Linked DNA regions of Homo sapiens: region 1 is linked to region 2. The links are contacts of gene promoters, found by promoter capture Hi-C in blood cells and fetal thymus (Javierre and others, 2016). All regions are on one chromosome and are shown on one strand. Each heading gives the region's core, a stretch centred on a gene start or on the middle of the fragment in contact. The rest is flanking DNA. Distances are from core to core; before and after follow the strand shown.

Evidence for each region. The method cuts DNA at HindIII sites, captures the fragments that hold promoters and counts their contacts. A CHiCAGO score of 5 or more calls a contact.
Region 1: a contact is called between a fragment that was not itself captured here and the fragment with the promoter of PAX8-AS1 in region 2, in 1 of 17 cell types (naive CD8 T cells). The highest score is 5.6, in naive CD8 T cells.

Annotation. Positions count from the first base shown.
Region 1 is chr2:113,352,899-113,359,931 of GRCh38, reverse strand. All of the region lies in intron 2 of LINC02966 (long intergenic non-protein coding RNA 2966), which reads right to left. It overlaps LOC124906070 (a long non-coding RNA gene), which reads left to right and starts at 288. Exons shown (of 3, transcript XR_007087202.1): 1 at 288-443; 2 at 2,206-2,256; 3 at 4,474-4,557. The HindIII fragment of the contact is 2,522 bases long and covers 3,565-6,086 here.
Region 2 is chr2:113,231,779-113,238,542 of GRCh38, reverse strand. It overlaps PAX8-AS1 (PAX8 antisense RNA 1), which reads right to left and starts at 2,274. Exons shown (of 6, transcript NR_015377.2): 1 at 1,921-2,274. PAX8 (paired box 8) reads left to right here. Exons shown (of 12, transcript NM_003466.4): 8 at 1,822-1,942; 9 at 2,961-3,149. RefSeq lists a silencer at 2,858-2,937 and an enhancer at 3,188-3,377. The HindIII fragment of the contact is 8,895 bases long and covers 1-5,687 here.

The DNA of each region.
Region 1 (7,033 bases), core at 3,576-6,075, 120 kb before region 2:
GAGAAAAGTACTTAGCATATTTGAAGAGCAGTTATATGCTGAATGAGCGGTAGATTCAGGGATGACTTGAAGCTGGAACTGCTCAAGAACAGCTTCCCAATGAGGTGTGACCTTCTCTCTGGGAGTGTCCAGGTCTGCACTGGGTGGGGGAGTTGAACAAGAGAGTGGCCAAGTGTGAGAAAGGTTGGGATGAAAAGGAAAATGACCTTTACTGAGCATCTGCTACAGACTGGTTTCTATGTTCCAAAGCTGAGATTAAAAATCAAAATAACTTCTGCAATGAACTAAAGCTGGTAAGTGTTGGAGCTGAGACCTGAATCCAGGACTTCCTGGCTCTGAAGCACAAATTTGAAGCAGCCTTCTTCACCTGCAGGAGCCAGGCCTGCATCAGTCATCTGTTTATAAGGCCAACAGCCTGATCACCTCTTGCAATCAACCAACAGGTAGGAAATCTTGCAATTGGTTACAAAAAATTGTCTACTGACAGATTTGTGTGGCCTTCAAGTAGAGACATCTCTTGGACAGGAATTGCTCAGGGAGTCACTGGACCACAGCTGGATTCTCAGAGTCCAGTGTTCCCTCATCACCACACTTCTTAAAGGCCAAGTGGCCTTACTTGTTATGTGGACCAAATCTCCAGCTGATCGACTCCTTTTTAAGCCTTTACGATGGAGTCCCTTCTATTCCAGAAGCTCAAAGCTACCTCCAGAGGAAAATAAGCCATCAGGGTTTAAGATAGCCTATACTGTCCCCTCACCTTTACTGTCTTCCCCACCTTAGCCATTTTGCTAAAGTGCCAAAGAGCACATGGCTCACCTCTCTGACCCAGACCACAATACTGAGTCAACCAAGGAAGTGACTCAAGGAACAGAGTGAATTGGGGATACCATTGAGGGCTCCAGACACCAAACCTGCAACGGTGATACATCTGTCTCCCACTAAGATTTTTGACTTCTAAAGGGTTACTTGAGTCAATGAGTTTTTATTTTCATGAGGGATCTTCAATGGGTCCCAGAAAAAAAACAAGTTATCTACATAATCATTCTTAGAACCTTCTGAGCACTGATGCATTCCTGAGCTGTCAGCTGCTGCTCCTCTCCCTCCCTCCCCACACCAGCTGCACACACACACACACACACACACACACACACACACACTCACCTTCCTGCTAAAGACTCTGAGCACCAAAAAATTTGAACTGTTCCTGGCTGTAGCCAACAGAGTATGGAAAGCAATTGTTTTCAGCAAAGTCTTGCCCAAATGTGGAAGATGAATGTTCTCAGTGGACAGGCCCAACACCAAGCTCCTAAGGAGCACCTTCCTACCTAAGGGAGGGAGATGTACAACCTGCATTGACAGACGCAGGGCCATCAGCTCTGAGGGCAAATGCCCCTTGCAGAACCTGTCAAGAAATAAAATTGTCTCCCATCTGAGAACTAGGGGTAGGGGTGAGGGACTTGAGGGAGAAGTATGTTTCTTGTTTTCTGATTTCCAGGGATTTTTAAACAGCCCTCAGTTTTTTTTTAAATAAGGGCTATATTATAGCTTTAAAAATAAGGGCTATATTTCCAAATCCTTCCTAAACTGATATATTTTCTAAGAAAAGGCAGTCTTTGAGCACCAACATATATTTAAGAGAGTCAGAAATGCCCGGCATGGGACACTTGGCTCCCATCCTTCATGAAACTATTTTCAGAGCATCTAAATATTTTCCCCGGACAACCCTAATAACCCACTGTGGGTCTCCAGCTATAGGACCTTGGGAAATTCATCTGACATCTCTGGATGTCACCCTCCTGCTCTATAAAATAAAGGTGTGATCATCAAGATGCCTCCCAGTTTTAAATTGTATGATTCAACTCAACTGTGAATTGGTGTAGACCAAGTGTTGGCAAACTACAGCTTGCTGGTCAAATCTGGGCCTTGCTAATTGTGTAAATAGCATGTTAATAGAACCCAGTCATGCTCATTCATAGGTACTGTCTATGGCTACTTTTGTACTACAATGGCAGAGTTGAGCATTTAGGGCAGTGTTGATCCACAAAGCCAGAAATATTTACTCTGATCTTTTACAGAAAATGTTTGCTCACTCCTGGTTTCAACCATTAGAAACTGAGAGCTTGAATTTGACAATGGGAAGCCAGGCGTTCTGTAGGGAGCTCACAGCAATATGTTCATAGGATGGGATTCTATTTATATTTTCAGCCTGTGCCACCTCTTGGGATCACACAGCAGGCAGCAAACTTATGGAACGTGGTAAGTAGAACTTTCTTGTCATTGTCCTAAAACTGCTGGTTGTAAGCTTCAGTGAGTGCCACCTTGGCAGGCAGGCTGTCTCCCTCTTGGTTCTCTCCACATCCTAGAGATTTCCATCATGCCCTGCTCACTCTGCCTTTTTTCAGATTTTACTGCTTTTTAAAAATCTGTCCTCAAACAGAAGCCTTTTCTTCCCCTTGAGTGTTTTAATTGCTCTTCTCTGGACCATGTCCAGGATCATTATGTCTTCACAAGAGCCTGTGACCAGACCTACACACTTTCAGGAGCAGACACTGTGGTTGCAAGCAAAGAGAAACATTTTGACTATGGAGCTCTGGGGTTGAGGGCTGGGCTTTGTGATCAGACCTGGGTTAGAATCCAGACTCTCACACCTTCTAGATATGTGACCTTTGTCAGTGACAGCATCTCTGCTACAGACCCTAAAGTGGTTGTGCATAATGAGTCAGGGAGATGACAAGACACGATGTTCAGTGCAGAATCTGAATATTTACTCATTCAGGTATACAGTTTGCTGACGGTGTTCTGTGTATGGACTCCCATCTTCAGAGAAGCCAGCTGCGATTTCAACTATACATATTTGTGTGTGTGTATATATAAATGTATGTATATATGTACATATATGTGTGTATATGTATAGTATATATGTGTGTACATATATATGTAGTTGAAATCATAGCCGAAGTCTCTGAAGACAATTCACAAATATACACACACACATATACATGCATATGTAATTGTATATACAGTTGTATACTATATATATCTATATATTGACTTATATACACGTATACATATATACACATATATTTATGTATTGAAAACTAACAAAATTTATCTTCCTAACTGAGCATGAGGCCCCTTGCAGGGACTCAGCTTTACCCATCTTTCTGTACACCTAGGGATGTGTGAAATACCAGACTACCTTGCTGAAGGGACCCTACAGGCCACCTTGTAGCCCAGAAAAAAAAAAGTCCAGTAGAATTGAGCCGTAAATGAGAAGCAGTAATCGCAATAAATACCTGCGAATTCATATTCTAAAGTGAATGGCTCTTGGAATTCTTGTTTTAAAAGTTATTTAGCAAACACTTATTGAACACTTAATATGAGCCAAACCCCTTCAAGTAGGGTGTGGCCTTTGCATTCCTAAGTATTGGTTTACAGCTCATTAGGCCTTTGACAAGGCAGCTGGGGTTGAAGAGAAAGGTAACCCTGGAGTGTCCCAAGCCATTGTCACCTGGAGGTAATGCATCTCTGCAGCGTTAGGGAAAGCCCGTGAGAACATAAGCTTTATTCACCAGCACCAAAGGTATGCTCTAGCATTTAGGAAATGCACAATGCCTCAACTCCTTCTGGAATCCCACCTGGGCACCCAGCATCCTGCGAGTACAATTCGTCTGATTTTTTTCCTAAGCAGGTTGCCTGAACTCATCTGCCCCTTAGCTGCTAGACGGAGCTACTCTGCAGTTTCAGGGCCACAACAGATACTGACCATAAGAGTCTAATCTCAGACACGGTTTAAACACAGATGGCCCAAGGAACTCCATCTGAGAGCTGAGGGGAGCCCAAAATGTCTCCCTGCCTCAGCCCCAGGTAACTCTGGGTGCTTTAGAAAGCAAAAAAGTTGCCAAAGGCCTCTGCTTGCGGCTCCCATTACCCCTGAGCAAACCCCTATCTCTAATAGGATCACGCATTAATGACAGAGACAGGTCCTGGGAAGATTAAAGGCTTCGTATAATTAAAAAGATAAGAGTGGGCCTGGGAGAAGGAAATTGGGATTCAATTAACACAAGGACTCTCCCCCCAGCACTCCCCCGCTATCAAATGTTCCACTCAGAAGGGCCTTCCCGACTTGCCAGAGAGTGAAAGGCTGAAGGGCTCTTATTTATGGCCTGCTTGGAGTTGGGCCTGGGGCCTTCCTTGGCTGGGGAGTTTGTTTACTTAGAGTTCAAGAGGGGAGGGGAAGAGCAACACAAATCCTGCAGGAGGAGGCCACAAGGTGCTTTTGACTCCTTTTCTTTCCCTCTTAGTTCCTCTGATCTTCTTGACAGGGGAAGAAAAATACTCAATAGAAGGTCTATTTCCTTCCTCCCTCAGCCTGAGGCTGACACAACAGGCTAAGGGTCACTGCTGAGAAAGCTCTGTGGGGTTATTTGTGTTGGGAAAGCACAGCCGCTTCCCCCTTTCCGTCTTTCTCAGGTTTCCATGGAGGCAGAAGGAAGATAAGGTTGGAGAAGCAGCTGCCTAAATGGCCTGTGGGCCTGAACATGAGGGGTGCCCGGCCCTCAGGGACCCCCACTTCTTGTGTTCTTTCAAAGAGTTTTCAAGGTGGAAGAAAACAGAGTTGACTGGGGTTGCAGACTAAGCTGACACAGGTAGGGTGGGGACAGTGTGGCAGGCTCCAGCAAGCACCGGATCAGTACCTTCAGCCCTAGTACTTCTCAGCTAACTAGTGGTAAAGGTGGGCCTGGGCCTCAGGACCTTATGGAAATAGACATGAAGGTCCATTTGGATGGATGGACTGTGTTTTAAAAGCCTCTGCTTTTGCTAATGGATGGTGAAGCCCGTATGCTGTTGCACCCTCTCCCAGACTCTCTTCACAGGGACCCACAGACTCCTCCACTAGAACCCTCCCCAGCAGACAGCAGCTCCCCTTCAGTTGGTCTGTGGGCACTCGAAGCTGTGTGCAACCAGGCCAATGAGGTTGGTGAGGCTAAGGAGGATGGCCTTGAGAAAAACCAAGCCAGGACGTCTGGGATCAAGAAGACAGAACACACTACAACAGCTGGAAGGAGTGGAGAAATGTACAGATAAAGCAAAATAATCAGGATATGAGATCTCGTTCCATGCCCAGTTAATCATCTATAAGCTGTATTCAAGGCTGCACATTAACTTCACGAATACGCCACAGACACCTCAAGTGCAAGAGGTTTAAAGCCAAACTCCGTGTTTTAACCACCCAATATGTTTCCTTCCTGTGTTCCCAATTCCAGAAAATGCCTCGGTTAGGACTTTCTGAGCCTTAGTTTTTCAACCCACAAAATGGAGGGAGCAATGCCTGCTCTGTCTACCTGGGCTGCCAGAGTCAGGTGAGAACCCAGACAGAAACACACATTGGAAAATAACAAATGTGAGGAAGACAGAGACCAGAGCATGCTCACTCACTGCCAACATTGGTCACCTCGTTATTGACTCTCAAAGGAGGGACCCCGTCTCACATGAGCATGTGATGGCACCATGCAAATTGCAATGGGCTGCACCAGCAAAAGAATGACAAACCAATGAGGCTGGCACCATAAGACAAGAGCACCAGAGACTTCCTTCAGATGCTACACACAGACATTTCCACAGAGACCCGTTAGAGACTAAAACTGAATTTTAGTATGAAACAAGGGACTGACAATGACAGCAGGAATTTTCAGCAAGAAGGGAAAGGAGAGCAACACATAGCGGGCTTGAGGGAGGGCTAATTGGAGCAAGCAGGGATGTGGTTAAAAGGGGAGGACCTCAGCGGTAATCAACTATATCGCTTATTTCCCAGTGGAACCATTTAAACTGAGAGAGGATGTGGAGGTTAGCCTCCAGCATGGCTCACAGTGATCCCCATCTCCTGGAAATCATATCCTTGTGTAGTCTCCTCCCAGACTGAATAGGGGTGACCTGGAGAACCAATAGGGTATTGAGGTGATCACAGTGTTTGACTTCTGCACCTGTGTCATAAAGCACATAATGACATCTGCCTTGGATCACTCACTCTGTGGGAAGCCAGCTTCCCTGTGGTGAGGACACTCAAACAGTCTTAGGAAGAAGCTTCCATGGAGAGTAACTGCAGCCTCCTGACAACAGTCAGCAAGGAACTAAGACTTCCTGCCAACAGCCACATGAGTGACCCATCTTGGGAGATGATTCTCCAGCCCCAGTCAAACCTTCAGATGATGTGGTTCCAGCCAACGTCTTGAGAGCCTGTGAGCAGACTCCCAGTTACACCACTCCCAGATTTCTGACCCATTATACTATGAGATAATTAATAAATGATTGTTGTTTCAATTCACCCAAGTTTGGGGTTGTTTGTTATACATCAACAGATAACTACTACAGAGGGTGTATTTCATTTCTAATTACTTTCCGTATTTTTATACTATATCCACAGTCATTACCTCATCTGATTCTTACACTTACTTATTTTCTCTGGCTCAAAGATTCATAAGCTGTGTCTTGGAGAAGTTAAGTAGCATTTCCAAATTCACATTATGCATGGTGGCAGATCCAGGTGAAATTCCAAGCATTCTGACTTCTCATGTTTTCTCTCTGCATATAATCCAGATGCTGAAATCACATTCTGTGGGCAGCTGCATCATTGAACATTGTCTGGAGCCTGCTCTATTTTGAAAGAACTCTTTGCTGCATGCTCTAGGGCACAGATGGAGGCAGCATCATAGGTGGGTTAAGGAGTTACCTCATCTTTGGCACAACCTGCTAAGCTAACCTGAGTACTCCCAGCCATTATTCCACAAGCCTCTACCGAGTGCCTCCTGTATGACAAGTGTCATGGAACTCATATCAACAGCATGCATTTCCTGGAGGCACAGTTCAATAGAGAGCTGGGGGTGAAAAAAAAAAGAGAAAAGAAAAAATAAGAAAGCTATAACATTTGAGCTTGAAATGTCACAGGGAGCCAAGGAAGTTGTCTGATGGATTGCCCTGTCATCGCCAAGCCAAAAGAAAAAAAACTTTCAGATCCATCAATTTGTTCCTGCCC
Region 2 (6,764 bases), core at 1,025-3,524:
GACTATATAGGTTTTCTTTTTCCTTTTTTTCTAAGTTACTTGGATTTTGAAATAGCTATAGGATTCTGAGTAGATATTTTGCTGTCAAAACAACACATCCATAAAGCATTTTAAACTTCTCTTATACGCTCTAGAAATTAGGTATTTTGTTCAATTTCAATAAGACACACCCTGGCCAGGTGCAACGGCTCATGCCTGTAATCCCAACACTTTGGGAGGTCAAGCCAGGCAGATCATGAGGTCAGGAGTTTAAGACTAGCCTGGCCAACATGGTGAAACTCCTGTCTCTACTAAAGATACAAAAAATTAGCCTGGCATGGTAGCACGCACCTGTAATCCCTGCTACTCGGGAGGCTGAGGCAGGGGAATCACTTGAACCCAGGAAGCAGAGGTTGCAGTAAGCGAAGATCGCACCATTGCACTCCAGCTTGGGCAACAAGAGCAAAACTCCGTCTACAAAAAAAAAAAAAAAAAAAGGCCCTAAGCAACTCCACCCTGCCTCTAAGTGGGCCCCCTTGGAAGGCATGGAACCAGAGCACCATTTAGTCAATAATTGCTGCTATGTGCTAATGGTGCCCTGGTGGCCTCCAGAATTGACTGCAGCTTCCAAAAGTGCCCAGCATGCAACCGGAAAGTGCTGTGGATCTTTGCAGAACCCAGCTCGATGGAAATCACTGAAAACAATTGCCTTTAGTGGCACTGTTATGTAACTACTGAGCATTCCCTGAATTCAGCTTTGCACATCTCACGTAGCAGGTATGTGACGAGTGTGAAGGTATGTGGGGAATGGGTGTGTTCTTTTTTCTGCGCTATCTGCTTCCCCAGTGGAAGGAGGCCATGGTGAGGATGAGGTACACTTACCTTTAGTTAAACAAGTTCTTTTCGGAAGGAGTACCTAAGGTCATAGCTGTGCTCCTGGGAAGGGGAGGCCAGGAGGCATCTAAAATGAGGTCTTACTGATGAAGACCCCCAGGTACTTGACAAAGAGTGTTTCCAACAAAAACAACTCTCAATACCATTTTCAAGCCGAACTTGCACACTTCTATTTGTTTGGATGTGGAGAGAGAAAAGAAGAAATCCACGTGGTGGGTAAAGCACCTGGGTCCACAGCCGAAAAATCCCGGGTTTAGTCTGTTTCACTATACAAAATTGGGCCATTTACCTGAGTTCCAGGCTCCACATATAAAACACAGACATAATATTACTCACCCATGTCACTGGGCTGCTGGGGGACTCTACTAGGACAACAGAGGCAAAGCTCTGATATAAGCTCTTTGCAAATGTAAGAAGTGGTCCTTATGTCACCCAGTTTAGGGCAGTGGTTGAGAGCAGACACATTCTGATCCCTCGAATCTGAATCCTATCTTTGGCCCATCTGGAAGTGGGACAAGTTTCTTAAACCTTTGTGCCTGGGTTTCCTATCTGGGGAAGAATAAATTAACAGATGCAAGGACCCTGAACAGTCCGGTTGGAGACTGCTCCAGTCCTTGGCACCGTCCTGCATTCTGTGGGTCCCAACAGTGTGGTGAAACCAGGAAGCCGACCAGCCATCCAACCAGGGTGTGGTCCTCTGGCTGAGACTCTCTATCCCACGTCTGGGCACCCATGCTACCAGCTGGCCTTGAATTCCAGGGATGCGGGAGGACAATGAGCATGAACGAAACGTGCCGAGTGGAGTTGAGAACGTAAAGGAAGAAGGGGGCGATGAGGACCTCTCCTGGGGAGATGAGGGCTGCCAAGTCCTAAGACACAGGCTCAGGGTCTGCAGGAAGGTCGGCTTGTTGGATCGTCTCTGTGCGCTGACTTCTCTTTGCTCCCCAGGGCCTCTACCCGCTGCCCTTGCTCAACAGCACCCTGGACGACGGGAAGGCCACCCTGACCCCTTCCAACACGCCACTGGGGCGCAACCTCTCGACTCACCAGACCTACCCCGTGGTGGCAGGTACAACGCCCGGAGCCTCCCTGGCAGGTGGAGGGCGGGGGACTGAAGAGCTTGGCTGGCTGTCAGGCGGAAGGTGTGGGGCCCTGGCCTGGAGAGGAGAGGCGGGCTGTGCCGGCCGGGCCGCCAGGTGGGCCCAGGGGTCGCGCCTCCGGTCCTAGGCCGGGCCTCAAGGTGGGCCGAGGGGTCGCGCCTCCAGTCCTAGGCCGGGCCTCAAGGTGGGCCCAGGGGTCGCGCCTCCGGTCCTAGGCCGGGCCTCAAGGTGGGCCGAGGGGTCGCGCCTCCAGTCCTAGGCCGGGCCTCAAGGTGGGCCGAGGGGTCGCGCCTCCGGTCCTAGGCCGGGCCTCAAGCTGGGCCGAGGGGTCGCGCCTCCGGCCCTAGGCGGCTCCCGTAAGGTGGGCCGAGGGGTCGCGCCTCCAGTCCTAGGCCGGGCCTCAAGGTGGGCCCAGGGGTCGCGCCTCCGGTCCTAGGCCGGGCCTCAAGGTGGGCCGAGGGGTCGCGCCTCCGGTCCTAGGCGGCTCCCGCAAGGTGGGCCGAGGGGTCGCGCCTCCGGTCCTAGGCCGGGCCTCAAGCTGGGCCGAGGGGTCGCGCCTCCGGTCCTAGGCGGCTCCCGCAAGGTGGGCCGAGGGGTCGCGCCTCCAGTCCTAGGCCGGGCCTCAAGGTGGGCCCAGGGGTCGCGCCTCCGGTCCTAGGCCGGGCCTCAAGGTGGGCCGAGGGGTCGCGCCTCCGGTCCTAGGCCGCTCCCGGGTCTCCGCGCTCCCTCCTGTGGGAGAGGCGGGCGCACACACGCCTTCCGGGTCTCTCCATTTTCGCTGCAGAAGCGCAGCAGGGAGGTCTAGCTTCTCTCTCCCCGCCTTGCCACGCCTCGTGGGCCCCGGCTCTCCCCAGCCCAGACTCTGAGGGCAGCTGAGCCTGCCCCGCGCCCCGCCCGCACCCTCCACATCCCACGGCTTGGCTTGTGCGTGTTCCCTCCCCGCCATCTCACACCCCTCTCTCCTTGTTGTCTCCCTCCCTCCGGCAGATCCTCACTCACCCTTCGCCATAAAGCAGGAAACCCCCGAGGTGTCCAGTTCTAGCTCCACCCCTTCCTCTTTATCTAGCTCCGCCTTTTTGGATCTGCAGCAAGTCGGCTCCGGGGTCCCGCCCTTCAATGCCTTTCCCCATGCTGCCTCCGTGTACGGGCAGTTCACGGGCCAGGCCCTCCTCTCAGGTACGACAGGGAGGTCCCGGGGCCATGCAGCTATGGCGGCGGGTGGGACGGGGGTCCTCAGGGCAGACCGCCAGCCCCCTCTCTGGCCTCAGTCTCATCCACCCCCACCCTGTTCCCTAATTCCTCCGGCAACTTTTGGAGGCGCCAACATGAAGTTCTCTGTGACGGGGAAGACATGCTCGGAAGGGGCGGATGCTGTAGGGGTGCCGGGGATGCACCACCCCAAGACCCCATGGAAAAGCAGGAACCCTAAGGCCGGGAGCCGGGTGCTGTAACGTAGCAACTTGGCCTTGGTAAATGCATAAATAGATAGAAGGAAAAATGAACATTTTGGAGGGAAAAAGGAATTGGCTTTTGGAGCCCATTTCTGGATCAAATTTCTAAAAAGGCCAAGGGTCAGTCCCAGTTGTGTTTCCATGATGCAGCTATCTTCATTCCTAGCTTAACAGCATCACCGGGAGGACAGTCAGACATCTGTTAAACATGATAAATTCAGTGATTCAACAACTTGAGAGGAGTGGGGGACCTCCCATCAGGAACCTCAACTGCCTCAAAATATTTAAAGCTGGAAGCACCGACCGGGCGAGGTGGCTCACCCCTGTAATTCCAGCAGTTTGGGAGGCCGAGGCAGGTGGATCACAAGGTCAAGAGTTCAAGACCAGCCTGGCCAAGATGATGAAACCCCATCTCTACTAAAATTCAAAAAATTAGGGGGTGTGGTGGCAGACACCTGTAATCCCAGCTACTGGGGAGGCCGAGGCAGGAGAATCGCTTGAACCCAGGAGGCATAGGTTGCAGTGAGCTGAGGTGGCGCCATGGCACTCCAGCCTGGGTGACAGAGCAAGACTCCATCTCAAAAAAGAAAAAAACAAATAAATAAAAATAAGTAAATCTGGAAGCACCTGAGGGAGCCTCTAGATCAAACCTCTTATGCTGATGAGGAACCTGGCCCAGGGAGGAGAAGGTCCCTGCCAAGGTCTCTGGGCAGGAGCACCATCTGTAGCTGGTTGAGGCCTGGGCCTGCACTGCATGAGTCAGACCTCAAGGGGAGCTGGCTCCTCCTGGCAGAAGGACCTTCGCTCATCCAGCCAGGGCCTGAGGAATGGCTGAGAGTCAAGCGCTTGGCTTGGGTTGGAGAGGGCCTGAGATGCAGTGAAAGTGGGAAGCAGAGACCCATATGGTCTTCAGATACCTCAAGGGCTTCCACAGGGATAGGACTATTTTAGATGTGGGCCCAGTGGGGGCCCAGGACCAGGGAAGGAAGCCAGCTAGCTCTCAGTTCAGCATTGGAGGAATCTCTTTAATAGCGGCACTGTCTCCAAGGAGTGTGGGTATTTAGTGACAGAAGTAAATGCCTCTTCACCTCCCACACCCTCCTACCCCGACGACCTTGAAATGCTGGAGCAGAGACCAGTGCGTGGGTGGGGTGTGTGAGACCTGTCACAGAGGCAGCCCAGAGTCAGACAGTCCATCTGGACCAGTGGTTTCAAATTTGGGCCTCTCAATGCTCTCTTGAAATGAAGCCTTTTACAGAAGACATGTATGCTCACCAGACCCCTGAAGAACTGCTCTTTTAGAAGGGGTCCCTGCCCCTAGAAAGCCCTTGGACTTCGAAACCACTGCACCAGAGGATTAAGACCTCTACAAGCCCAGAGTAACCACAGGGTCATGTGATAAAAGTCCCTGGACCCTTTTTTTTTTGTTTTTTTGTTTTTTGAGATGGAATCTCACTCTGTTGCCCAGGTTGGAGTGCAGTGGCGCGATCTCAGCTCACTGCAACCTCCACCTCCTGGGTTCAAGTGATTCTCCTGCCTCAGCCTCCCGAGTAGCTAGAACTACAAATGGGCGCCACTACACCCGGCTAATTTTTGTATTTTCAGTAGAGATGGGGTTTCACCATGTTAGCCAGAATGGTCTCAATCTCCTGACCTTGGTCCGCCCACCTTGGCCTCCCAAAGTGCTGGGGTTACAGGTGTGAGCCACTGCACCCAGCCCATGGACCCTTTTTTATAACTGGCTCTACATTTTCTTTCTGGCTGGCACCCGGGTTTTTTTTTTTTTTTCCTCCGTACATCCCAGCACCTAATGTGAGAAGTTTCCTTAGAAGAGAGGGACATCCAGTGTGTGGGCAGAGAGATGGTGTTTAAGGGTCTAAAGCGAGGAGTTGACTTGGAGTTCAAGAATTCAAGAGGGTGAAGGCAGCAGAGATGGGTCATTTGTTTTGACCAAAGTGATGAAAAGAGCAAAACCTGTGAGCTGAGTAAAATTATGTCAGCCAGAGAAAATGGGATGCGGGGTAGGGAGGGGAATGAGAGGATAGTGGAGAGGAAGGGAGGGGAAGGGAAGGGAGGGGAGGGGAGGGGAGGGGAGGGGGTGAGGAGAAGAGGTTCATGTCAGTTACAGGGAGTTACGCAAGCCTGCATGTCTTCTGAGAATGGCAGGCTAGAGCTGGCGGCGGTCATGGGGCAGGCAAGGGGTGAGGGTGTGGTGGTGCCCATGATGATGGGGAGCAGGTGCTGTGGAAGCCGCGGAGAAGCTTGGCAAGACCAGCTGAAGGAGAGGGAAGGATGTAGGGCAGCTGGAAGTGGATAGATGTATCAGAGTGCAGACATAGGCTGTAGTGTAAAGTGCAACTGGAACAGCCCAGGGCAAACTCCCTACTCCCAAAGCCCCTACACTTTGTCCCCTCCCTGTCATCCTGTTAGCATCCCCTGTCAACATGCAGTCAATCAGAGGTGACGCCTCCAACTACTGTCAGCTGTTAATTTAGTGGACATGCCCACTCTCCAGGCCAACTGCAGGACTGAGAGGTCACCCAACCCATGGGACAAAACAGCTGGCAGCAGACACCAGGTAGTCATGTAGGAAGCAGGCAGCCAAATATGCAGCACCGGCATATCTTTCAGGCTGGTGGCCCCCAATCCAGGCCCAGATGATGCTGAAGTGCAGGTGTGAGCACTTTGAAGGTTGCTGGCTGGTCACAGGGCCCCCTAGCCCAAGGGTTGACAATTCAGCACAGAGGCAGAGGCTCTGAAAAGAGTGAGGAGTGCTAGCCTTGGAGGATCTGGGGTCCAGGCAAATGGCCAAGAGTAGGAAGCAAGTCAGAAAGCAGCTCAGGCACAAGGGAGGGGATGGCTGGTGTCCATGCTGAGCTCAGGGTGTTGGCCTGGAGCTCCTTACAGACTGTCCACCTGAGGCCTCTGGTCAAGACTGGATCTCAATACCTAACACGTGGCTGAGCCATGGTGAGAGAGCTGGGAGGACATGACGGGGGGCGGTGGGGAAGGTTAGGAAGGGAATGGTTCCAGGAGCGCAGGAGGCTGCAGACCTTCCCAAGAAGAGGTGAATTTGAAAGAAAGAGAAGGAACCTGGGCCCAATGGCTCACACCTGTAATCCCAGCACTTTGGGAGGCCAAGGTGGGTGGATCACCTGAGGTCGGGAGTTCGAGACCAGCCTGACCAACATGGAGAAACCCCATCTCTACTAAAAATACAAAATTAGCCAGGCGTGGTGGCACATGCCTGTAATCCCAGCTACTCGGGAGGCTGAGGCAGGAGAATTGCTTAAACCCAGGAGGCGGAGGTTGCGGTGAGCCGAGATCGTGCCATTGCACT